Regions from separate parts of the Homo sapiens genome. Here region 2 is linked to region 1. Evidence: promoter capture Hi-C in human tissues and cell types (Jung and others, 2019). All regions are on one chromosome and are shown on one strand. Each heading gives the region's core, a stretch centred on a gene start or on the middle of the fragment in contact. The rest is flanking DNA. Distances are from core to core; before and after follow the strand shown. Region 1 holds the start of ALOX5AP (arachidonate 5-lipoxygenase activating protein). Region 2 overlaps LINC00544 (long intergenic non-protein coding RNA 544).

What was found. The method cuts DNA at HindIII sites, captures the fragments that hold promoters and counts their contacts. A contact is called where the count stands out against the background at its distance.
Region 2: a contact is called between a fragment that was not itself captured here and the fragment with the promoter of ALOX5AP in region 1, in 1 of the 25 tissues and cell types used here (dorsolateral prefrontal cortex).

Annotation. Positions count from the first base shown.
Region 1 is chr13:30,733,628-30,737,471 of GRCh38, forward strand. It overlaps ALOX5AP (arachidonate 5-lipoxygenase activating protein), which reads left to right and starts at 1,916. Exons shown (of 5, transcript NM_001629.4): 1 at 1,916-2,048. The coding sequence starts at 1,979. All of the region lies in intron 2 of LOC124903146 (a long non-coding RNA gene), which reads right to left. The HindIII fragment of the contact is 13,431 bases long and covers 1-3,844 here.
Region 2 is chr13:29,940,181-29,946,920 of GRCh38, forward strand. All of the region lies in intron 3 of LINC00544 (long intergenic non-protein coding RNA 544), which reads left to right. Among named protein-coding and RNA genes, the nearest start is that of LINC00544, 7.0 kb to the left of the region's middle. The HindIII fragment of the contact is 6,169 bases long and covers 1-6,125 here.

The sequences.
Region 1 (3,844 bases), core at 666-3,165:
CTGGGTGTGTTAGGGAGGGTGTTTCTGAAAGAGATCAGCACTGGAATCAGCGGACTAAGTAAAGAATTCCCACCCTCACCAATATGGTGGGTGTCATCAATCCACTGAGGGCCTGAATAGAACAAAAAGCGGGCAGAAGGGCAAATTCCCTCTTCTTCTTGAGCTGGGCCATCCATCTTCTCCTGCCCTTGGACACTGGAGCCCCTTGTTCTCCAGCTTTTGGATTCAGACTGGGTCTTGCACCATTGCCCTCCATCTTCTCCTGCCCTTGGACACTGGAGCCCCTTGTTCTCCAGCTTTTGGATTCAGACTGGGTCTTGCACCATTGCCCTCCTTGATGCTCAGGCCTTTGAATGCAGACTGGTCTCCACCAGCAGCTTTTCTGAGTCTCCAGCTTGCAGATGGCAAACCATGAAACTTCATGGTGTCCATGAGCATGTGAACCAATTTCTATTATAAATCTGCAATATATATATATGAGGAGACTTATTTATATATTGGTTCAGTTTCTCTGGAGAGCCTTGGCTAATATAAAGTCTATACTCTACAAAGTGCCCTAGGTACTCAGGGAGTACCCAAGTGTGTCATGACCAGCCCGACAGCCCTGGCTGCTGGCTTCCCCGCACACAACTCTGCACGCTGCCTTCATCAGCCTTTCTCTCTCAGCTGAACCGAGGGCATTGAAGCGGGCCTCTGGCACTGTACCTATGAGGGAGCAATATCTTCCCCTACACTGACCTCTTCCGTGCCGAGATGCAGCCCTCCCTGCTGCCACTAGTTACAGTGGTCCATGTTCCCTTTCAAAGTGAAGTTTTGATAAAAGCACCTCTTAACCAATGCCAAATAGCTAAGTCTGGGACAAAGATTGCAGGTATTTTGCATTTTCCATGTAACCTCAGAGGGATTGCCATTCACACTGATCTGAGCTGCAGAATACCAGGCAGCCACCTCACCCACCCAGCAGGTCCACTCTTATACTTTCTCAGAAAGCACAGCCACTCTACTCTTATTCAGTTGAAAAGAATTTCCAGGAAGGTGTTTCTGCGATTGCCTCAGAAAAGTCAGTTCCCTTTGGGAATTTCCCTTAGGGATCATCTGTAACTCCATTTCTGCCTTTTACCTGAATTCTTTGGTTTGGTTTGAATTCTTTGGTTTAATTTATGAATTCCCTTTATTACTTTTCTCTGAAGAAATGGAGATATCAGCTGTCCCTCCCCACTGCCATTTATTCCTTCCTTCATTCAAACCTTATGTGGCTGCTACTTACCGTGTGTTAAGTGTTCACTTTTTTTCTTGGAATTCAAAAAAAGAAGGACAGTATTTGGGGCACAGATCTTTTGGTGTTCTATACATTTTTTTAAAGTTTCATTTTACATTTGTGTGTGCGTGTGTGTGTGTGTGTGAGACAGTCTTGCTCTGTTGCCCAGGCTGGAGTGCAGTGGCATAATCATTGGCTCACTGTAGCCTCAAAGTCCTGGGCCCAAGCAATCTTCCCACCTCAGCCACCCAAAATGCTGGGGTTACAGGTTTATGCCACTCTGTCTGACCTGAAAGTTTTGGGTTTACTTTCCCTTCTTTCTCTTTGCTGAAGTCAGAGATGATGGCAGCTTCCAGATTCTCTGGTGCCTGTGCTGGGCTCGTGCTGGTCATGGTCTTGGGTCCAGGATTCATTCTGGAGACTCTCAGGGAAGTTTCCCATGACAAGGAAATGTAGGAGAGTGTGCTGGCTTTGCGTGCTCCTCTGCCAAGCCCTGCTTCTCCTGGTGGGACACACTGAACCACAGCCAGGGCATTTTGGTGGTTAGTTAAAAAAAAAAAAAAAAAAAAAAAAAGGAAGAAGAAGGCACTGTGTAATTGTGCCGGGGATCTTCAGAAATTGTAATGATGAAAGAGTGCAAGCTCTCACTTCCCCTTCCTGTACAGGGCAGGTTGTGCAGCTGGAGGCAGAGCAGTCCTCTCTGGGGAGCCTGAAGCAAACATGGATCAAGAAACTGTAGGCAATGTTGTCCTGTTGGCCATCGTCACCCTCATCAGCGTGGTCCAGAATGGTAAGGAAAGCCCTTCACTCAGGGAAGAACAGAAGGGGAGATTTTCTTTGATGGTTGTTTGGAAGTCAGGCTTAAACAATTGTGTCTGTGTGTGCGCATGCACAAACACTTTTACCTTATCTTTATTTTCTTCTTTTTATTTGAATGTATAGGGTTGTGTGTATTTCTGTGTAAATTTGGGGTTTTCCTCCTCTTAGTCTTTCACTTTTGTGGTGATTACCAGTCCCATTTTTAGAGCCAGGGCTGCAACTTGAAGGTTTTGCTAAAACCCTCACCGAAGTGTCTATGATCAGCATTTTAACTATTAATTAATGTGGCCAGGCAAGGGGTGGAAGGTGAGAAGACTAGAAAGGGAACATGATATACACATTTACTCAGATACTGGGCTTTTCTAACATCTGCAGTGCAATTGAAGTTACCAGTCATCTGCAGTCTAAAAAGAAAGTGATTTTGGGAGGTGCGTAGAAAAAATCATCTTATTATTTTTCCTCTATATTACTTTTTTCTTTTTTTCTCCTGAAGAAACTTTTTTTTTTGGTGATACCTTCTTTTTCTCTAGCACGTATAATTTTGGAAGCATTTTTCATATGCAGTGTATACTTCAGAAAGAGAGAGAGAGAGAGGAAAATTGTCCTGTTCAGCGTTTGCATTTCCATTATTCCTGCTATTAGTTAAAAACAACAACAACAACAAAAAACAAGCAGGATACCTAGATCTGGAAAAGGGAGAATTGTGTAGAGCTGTCTTCCTAAAGTTCTGAGTTAGGGCTGCCTCAGACCACTTTCATAACTATCTCCAGTGGCTTTGTGTTTTATATTTATTAAGATAGAGAAAAAAAGAGTAATTACTAAGGGCAGCTGCTGTAGCTTTATGGTGATTACTGAACATTGACATGCTGTCACGTTTTTGGAACTTTGAGTATTTAATCACTTTGGGATATTCTATTTTCCCCCATCTTGAGTGTGGACAGATGCTGGTGATGTAGCCTTCTGGGCACAGAGCAAGCCTCCCCCTCAGCCTCTGCACCAGAAAGGCTCAGCTTCACACACTCCAAGTATGTTTTCTACAAGAACTACACTTTGTGGCTTTCTGACCCAAACATTTTTATACTAAATTACACACAACAAAGTTGTAGCTCAGAGAGGGAACAAATGGCTTATTTAGGCCACCATTTTCTTGAGCCATTATGATTTCACACAGGGCTCCCTTGGCCCTGTAAATTGGCAAGGATTCCATTATTCAACCCGCATACATGTACAGAGACCCTGCTCTGGCCCAGATAGTATTCTGGGTACAGGCGGATAGAGCAGGAAACAAAACAGCTACAGTGATGGACAGGTCAGCCTGCAGCAATGCCTGCAGTCTCTGCAAAGGTAGCTGTATGGGTGGGCAGGTGGCTAGCACTTATTCAGCTCTGGAAGGATCTCCCCTCTGGCCTCTCCCCTGACACCCATCAATAAAACTGAGGAGCATCGGTGGACAGGGGACCTTGTGCCCCCTCCCTGCCTGTGCAGTTGGGGCTGAACCCAGCTACGAAGTTTGAGCTCACTCTCTCCAGCTCCCTCTCAATTCAGAGCTGAACTGTGGGAAGCTTCAGAGCTCTCTGTTTCAAGGACAGGTTCTCCTCACCTCTCCTAATGGAGGTGCACCAGGGAACTGGCCCTGCTCTGCCCAGGGCTTTCTCCTGGACTTTGCCATCATGGTCTAGCAAACCCTGTTCAGATTGAGGTGAGTGGTGAGATTTCGAATTCTTTTTGACAGATAGGATTAAGTCTTCTTCTGTGGGACAAGTGGGA
Region 2 (6,740 bases), core at 1,791-4,290, 790 kb before region 1:
GTAAGATGTGCACAGGCTCACCTCTAGCTCAGCCTCTACCTCACTCTGGAACCCCAAGCTCATCCCCCACTATACGATGGGGGTGGCAGGACTTGCCCTGGATCCCCGACAGGGTTATCACCAGAGAGACAGTTGGGAAAGCTCATTGAAAAGTTACTGTTCTGGCTAGGCGTGGTGGCTCACGCCTGTAATGCCAGCACTTTGGGAGGCCGAGGTAGGCGGATCACCTGAGGTCAGGAGTTTGAGACCAGCCTTCCCAATGTAGTGAAACCCCATCTCTACTAAAAATACAAAAACTTGCCAGGTGTGGTGGTGCATGCCTGTAATCTCAGCTACTCAGAAAGCTGAGGCAGGAGAATCACTTGAACCCAGGAGGTGGAGGTTGCAGTGAGCTGAAATCGCACCACTGCCCTCCAGCATGGGCTACAAGAGCGAAACTCTGACACACACACACACACACACACACACACACACACACACACACACGAAAACAAAAGAAAAGTTACTGTTCTATTAAATGTACTCTCTCTAATGAATGAAATCTTCCTGCATATAATGATTTGAGCCTTCTCCATAACTCTTCACTCCTTTTTACACCAATTTTTGTTTTAATGGGAAGAAAAAAAACCCTATGCACTATTTCCTCCCCTACCTTTTCTAGTTAGGATTAAACAGAAGAAAAATGGTGGCACCATTCCCAGAGGTCTTCAGCATTTGAACTTTACACTAGAAAACTCTCAATCCAAAGCTAAAATTCATATGTAACCAATGTCCTTAAGCTAACAGCTGCTTGCACATTCAAAAAAGCTTTGTATTTCTCTCTTCATGTCACTGTTAACTCTCTATTTCTCTTTAGCTATTTATCAGCCTCTGAGAAAATCTCCCGGCAACTCCTCCCCACATAAAACTATTCTAAATCCATGTGAAGCCCTTAATTTAATCAACACATTACCATTTCCTAACAAAGGGTAAATGAGATCAACTAAATTTACACCAGGAAGAAAGGAAATTAATTTTACTCAATTATAAAAAGGAGGAGGCTTTACACAGGTAACAATTTAACAATTGTAGTAGTGGGGATTATGGAAAACTCTGAATCAGGATGCCAGGAGGTCACCCACTGCTGATAGGTTTCAAAATAACTCCCCAAATCCTGACAGTAACAATTTAGTGAAGGCCCAAGAGCCGAGATAGTCCTTAAGTAATGAAAAATGATGACAGCCTAAAAAGAGGGAATTGCATAATAATCAGAATTTAGATTTGAGACACTGATAAGTCACCTGTAAATAATCCGCAGAGCTTGCCTTTTAGCTACTTCTAAGGCTTGCAGACAATGCATTGTTTAAGCTATGTTCAGAAGACACCCAGCACCTTATTTTCTAGAACCAGATTTTTCTGTGGGTAGAAGGGAAGAAATCCAGGATTTATGGCAGATGTACAGTAAAATATAAACTAAGATGATTAAAACAAAATGGACCCTGGACAGTAATGCTAACTGGCACACTAAGATCAATGGATGTGGATTCATATAAGCTGTCTAGAGACCAGCTGGTAAAAATAGGGGGAATGGTTAGAAATTATAACCCACTCCAAGCTGGAAAACATGCCAACCGTATTGTGTTATTCTGGGGCACAAATTATAATTCTACAACACATTAAAGAGAAAATTGTATGGGAAGCTAGAAGTCATTTTCTTATGCTTCCCGCTCATAGGGAGCCACATGCCATTTGGATTACTGCACTTTTCAAAGTACATGGAAAGACTTGAGACAATCCAGAGAAGAATGACACAAACAAAAGGGCAGGACTCATGATGGAAAAGAGGCCCCATGAGGAAAGGCTAAAGAGTCAGAACTACTGAAGCTAAAGAGGAAAACTCAAGTAACGAAACATTATTGCTTTCAAATATGTGACAGGTATTTGGCTAGAAGTTATCACTGATACGTTTCCAGAACACATGGAGGCCAAGGCAGACAAAAGTAAAGATGGAAACCAGACCAGTAAATAAGTCCTTTGATGAACTTCTGAGTCTCTACAGATGAAGGCAAAGCTCCCTCACAGTTGCAGGCAACGTCTCATCTTTTGTCACTTCTGGCATGACACTGCACAGCCACAGCCAGTACGGTATCTCTGCCTTTGCCCATGTCCTGCCTTCTTTCTCCCTGGTCGGTATCTCCTCACCTCAACCAGCTTGGCCAGCTCCTTGGTCATTGGGGTTGCACCCACCCAGGCATGTGCCTGGCTCCGCACAACCTCAGAAGCTCTCAGTACAGTGCAGGACCAGAGGTTGAAACCAATGAAAGGTTGTTAAATAAAGAGAAAATGTTTAATGCTGAGAACAAAGACTAGGAAAGAGATGTCTAATAAGAAATTTTACAGTGAAATACCATGTGTTGTGCTCTGTAACTTCGTCTCCATCTCCCTAACATAGTGTTTAGTGAAATCTACAGTGCTCACTCATGCTTTGTGGAGTCTGGGGGTGAAAGCTTGTAGATATCCAACATTTGCATAACACTAGAAAGTCCACTTTGCCCTCTCCGAGAAAATCTAGTGATCCTGCTGTTTATATCTGATTCAGATCCCTCAATAAGAGTTCTCTTGGTCTCATTTTCATACTGATCCTAAGAAGCATTCACTAACTAGGCTGTACCTACCTAGTACAGCTCTGTCCATATGGTAGATCTGCAATAGATTCTTGGGATCTTATGGTAATTAGATAGCACGCCTATTCTGGAATAGTGGCAATTTGGTTATTCTCTTACACTGACCAAGCATGTGTTAGCTCACTGATGCCCATCTATGTAGGTATTTAGATGCATTGTCCTGGGAGACACCCAGCTTCCTGGGAAGATGGGGATGGAGAGTCTCCTGAAGTATCCTGAAGTTCTTCACTGTCTCCCTTGACAGGGATCCTGGGTAAACTTCATGAAGACCTACAGGGAACTGGCAGCTGGCCTGTTCTGCTATGAGAGAACTCTCTCGATAAGCCCTATTATTTTCCTGAAACCATGTTACATTATAAGAGGCTGGAAGGGATGGTGAGAAATCATTTATTCCATGGTTCTCTGGGCAGAACAGCACTCACCCATCGCAGAAGCCTCCACATCCTCTCATTATGTCTTATCTTTTTATTTGTTTCCAAGCCACATTCATCTCCAAAGCAAACCTTTGTTATGTTTACTTGAGAACACCACAGTTTCCCATTGCATCTCTCACCCCCTTGTCAAAACTATGCAAATTAAGAATAACCCCAATCTGGTTGAGATTGTTTGTAACTGAAAAGTAATTGGGTTATAATATGCTAATTCTTATGCTAATATTTGGCTCCAAAGATAAAGAGACCTGAAATGCTAATGTGAGAGTCCTCCCACAAAGAGGATTACAAGCAGGAAGTTTGCAGAAGAAAGGAGGGGACCCGAATGGAGCAAGGACTAGAAACACAGGCCCTTTAGAAATCATTGGGGGGTTTCGTTGGTTTGTTTCTTTATACTTTCTTTTATTTTGCAAATTTTCTATGATTACTATGTGTTACCGTAACACTTAGCAGGAAAAATAACGTAATGTCTAAAGAGAAAAAAGAATGAGGAACTTTCTCGGAGCAGAAGTAGATGAAGGAAAGGCCGAGGCTGGCCTTACCAGAGCCTCTCCCAGGAAACGGTCAGGCACTGACCTGAGCCGGCTTCCCAAGACAGGAAGAGTTGGTTTCAGGGAAAATCCATGTCTGGGATCCAGGGAAGTTGATGAGTCAGCTTTCAGGTGGGTGAGAGAACAGTGGCTCCAACCTGGGCCTCAGGACCACTGGGACTGAGAGGAAAGGGAAATAATATCTTCAAACCTGGTGGAAGAGGTCAATGTGAGCGTATTAGAACCATACCCTGTCGATGTTTCTCCATTCATTTCTTCAAGGAATATTCTACAAATATCTGTTACCCTCTTTGTACAGTACACTCTGCTAGTCTCTGTGGGTACTGGGAAGATGAATAAAGAGGAACGAAGATGCTTCCCCAGTCTGAAGAGCAGGGGCTTTCTCTGTGAGCCTGTGAAGGAGGCGGTGCAGGCATCAACCTGCTGAGGCCTTCACACCCCTCCTTCTGGCTGACCAGGAGCATTCAGCGATGAAGGAGGGAGAGGGTGCCCTTGGCTGGTGGTCGGTGCCTTGAGAAGTGCTGGAGAAGAGCTGGGCCCTCACTTGGGAAATCTTTTCTTTTTTTTAAGACAGGGTCTCACTCTGTCACCCAGGCTGGAGTGCAGTGACATGCTCACGGCTTACTGCAGCCTCAGCTTGCCAGGCTCAAGTGATCCTCCCACCTCACCCTTTCAGGTAGCTGGGACTACAGGCTTGTGCCACCGCGCCCGGCTGATTTTTGTGCTTTTTGCAGAGATGGGGTTTCACCATGTTGCCCAGGCTGGTCTGGAACTCTGGGCTCAAGCGATCTGCCCACCTCAGCCTCCCAAAATGCTGGGATTACAGATGTGAGCCACAGTGCCAGGCCTCACTTGGGAAATCTTAAGGAAAGAAATAAGGTGATGAGCTGAAAAGGGCCTTGAATTATGGCTCTGACTGTGTGCTGCCCCAGGGCATGTTCCACCCTGAATCTTCATCAAATCCTTTCCATACATGATTCTACCCGTGTGAAGCTCTGAACTTCTGTTAAAAGATGGTAGTAGTGGCCAGGTGCGGTGGCTCACGCCTGTGATCCCAGCACTTTGGGAAGCCAAGGTGGGTGGATCACCTGAAGTCAGGAGTTCGAGACCAGCCTGGCCAACATGGAGAAACCCCGTCTCTACTAAAAATACAAAAATTAGCTGGGCGTGTTGGTGGGCGCCTGTAGTCCCAGCAACTTGGGAGGCTGAGGCAGGAGAATCGCTTGAACCTGGGAGGTGGAGGTTGCAGTGAGCCAAGATCACGACATTGCACTCCAGCCTGGGCGACAGAGCAAGACTCCGTCTCAAAAAAAAAAAAAAAAAAAAAAAAAAAAAAAAAAAAAAAGCGAGTAGTTTATTCCTTTCCTCATCACCCATGTCTCTTTTTGACACTCTTGAATCCCTGTAATGCATTCTCAAAAATATTGAAGATCTCTTCAGCTTCTTTTCTTCCCCTGCCTTCACCAAGAGGTCACACATCATTACTGGCAGCAAATGGATCCCATCTGTACTACAGAGGTCAAAGATTTCAGTCAGTGAGTTACGGACACCGTCGACGAAAACAGCAGCCTGTCAGGGAATCACGTAATGATCACAGCCAAAGGAAGCCCTGTCCTGGGAGTACCCTGCTGATGCCTCAGCTTCTTGCTTCTAAGCTCCTGGCCCCATTTGGTCTGAGGCAAAGAACATTGAGATTGGTGCCATTTATTTTCATTAACGTGCAGAAGAGGCGGCAGGAGTTTTGGGAGACCTCTGAAGAACCATTAGTTGGGGTGAGACTAAGACCATGCTTTCTACTCTGGAAACTTGGTCTGCAACCGGTAAAGTAAGGTCTCCCAACAAATGGAATAATGTGCCGTGTGGCTATGATGGGTGTAGATAGATAATCAATGCTCAGCGCATTTTCCCCGGGAAAGGTTTCCAGGATGGCTTTTAAGGAAAGTAATGAGCTGTTTGTTCCCTGGTTGTAGGAGAAGAGGGTGTTTGTTGATCACACATCTTTTTAATTAGTTATAGACACAGATGGGTTTTTTTTCACGTTTTTCTGACATATACTTACTTATCTAATGAAAAGTGCCCAGCATAAAAATGCAGGAGACAGACTTCCTTAGCCACCAGAGGCATCTTCCCTGCTTCCATATTATTGGTTTTAAAGTGACCTGCCCTGAAAGAGACCATCTCCAAAGCCCTGAAGGTCGTCCATAGATCATTTCAGCCTAACAGGCCATTTATTTCCATACAGATACAACACCAAGTGAGGTGCTGTATGTGGGCCAAACATCACAGGTGTCAAGCAAGATGTATGTTAGGTTGTGTTCATCCCATGCATATTAGGGCTTTGTGGAACAAAATGCTTCTCTCCTTCAGCAGCAAAGTAATTGTGCTTAGACAATCTGTTTGACCTTCTCTGAGCCCCAGCTTCCTTATCTATAAAAAGACGTCTGGACTGAATGTTCCCAAGTTCCTCTCTGCTCTAAGCTCGCAAGCTGAAGTTTGTACACAAAAGCAGGACCTCTGCGGAGGAGCAAAAGTCTGCTCCACACCTACCTGATAACCCTCCTTGGTGCTCTTGGCTTCAGAGTTTGTTTCGATCCCCTCTCTTGTCTGACTGGAACAGTTCGACTTTTGCTACAAGCTGCAGCTCAAATACCATCTCCTCTCGGAGGCCTTTCTAGCTCTGTTCTTTTCCACATGTGTGTGTTTGGGCAGACACACGTATCTGTCAGGGTCCCTCTAATTCTAAAGAATCTGAACAATCTGTTTAATTCTAATGGGGCTCCTAGAGGACTTCACACCACCTGAATTTCAATGGAGTCATCACTGCACGGCTAGTGATTGGGTTCAGGACATGCTATGCAAAATACGGCACCTTGGCATTTAAGAAAGCAGCAGACACAGTTCTCTCTGACCTTCTCCTACTCTTCTCCCCTGAAGCATGCCATCAATGACTAAAGGAAGTAATAAGACCCTCTTGTGATGGTACCCCCCCTCCACACCTGGAGGAAAGGAATGTCCCTATCTGAAAACTCGGGGACACATAGAAGAATCTGAGCAAGTAGGCCTGACTAGTTCTCCTCAATTAATAACCATTAGTA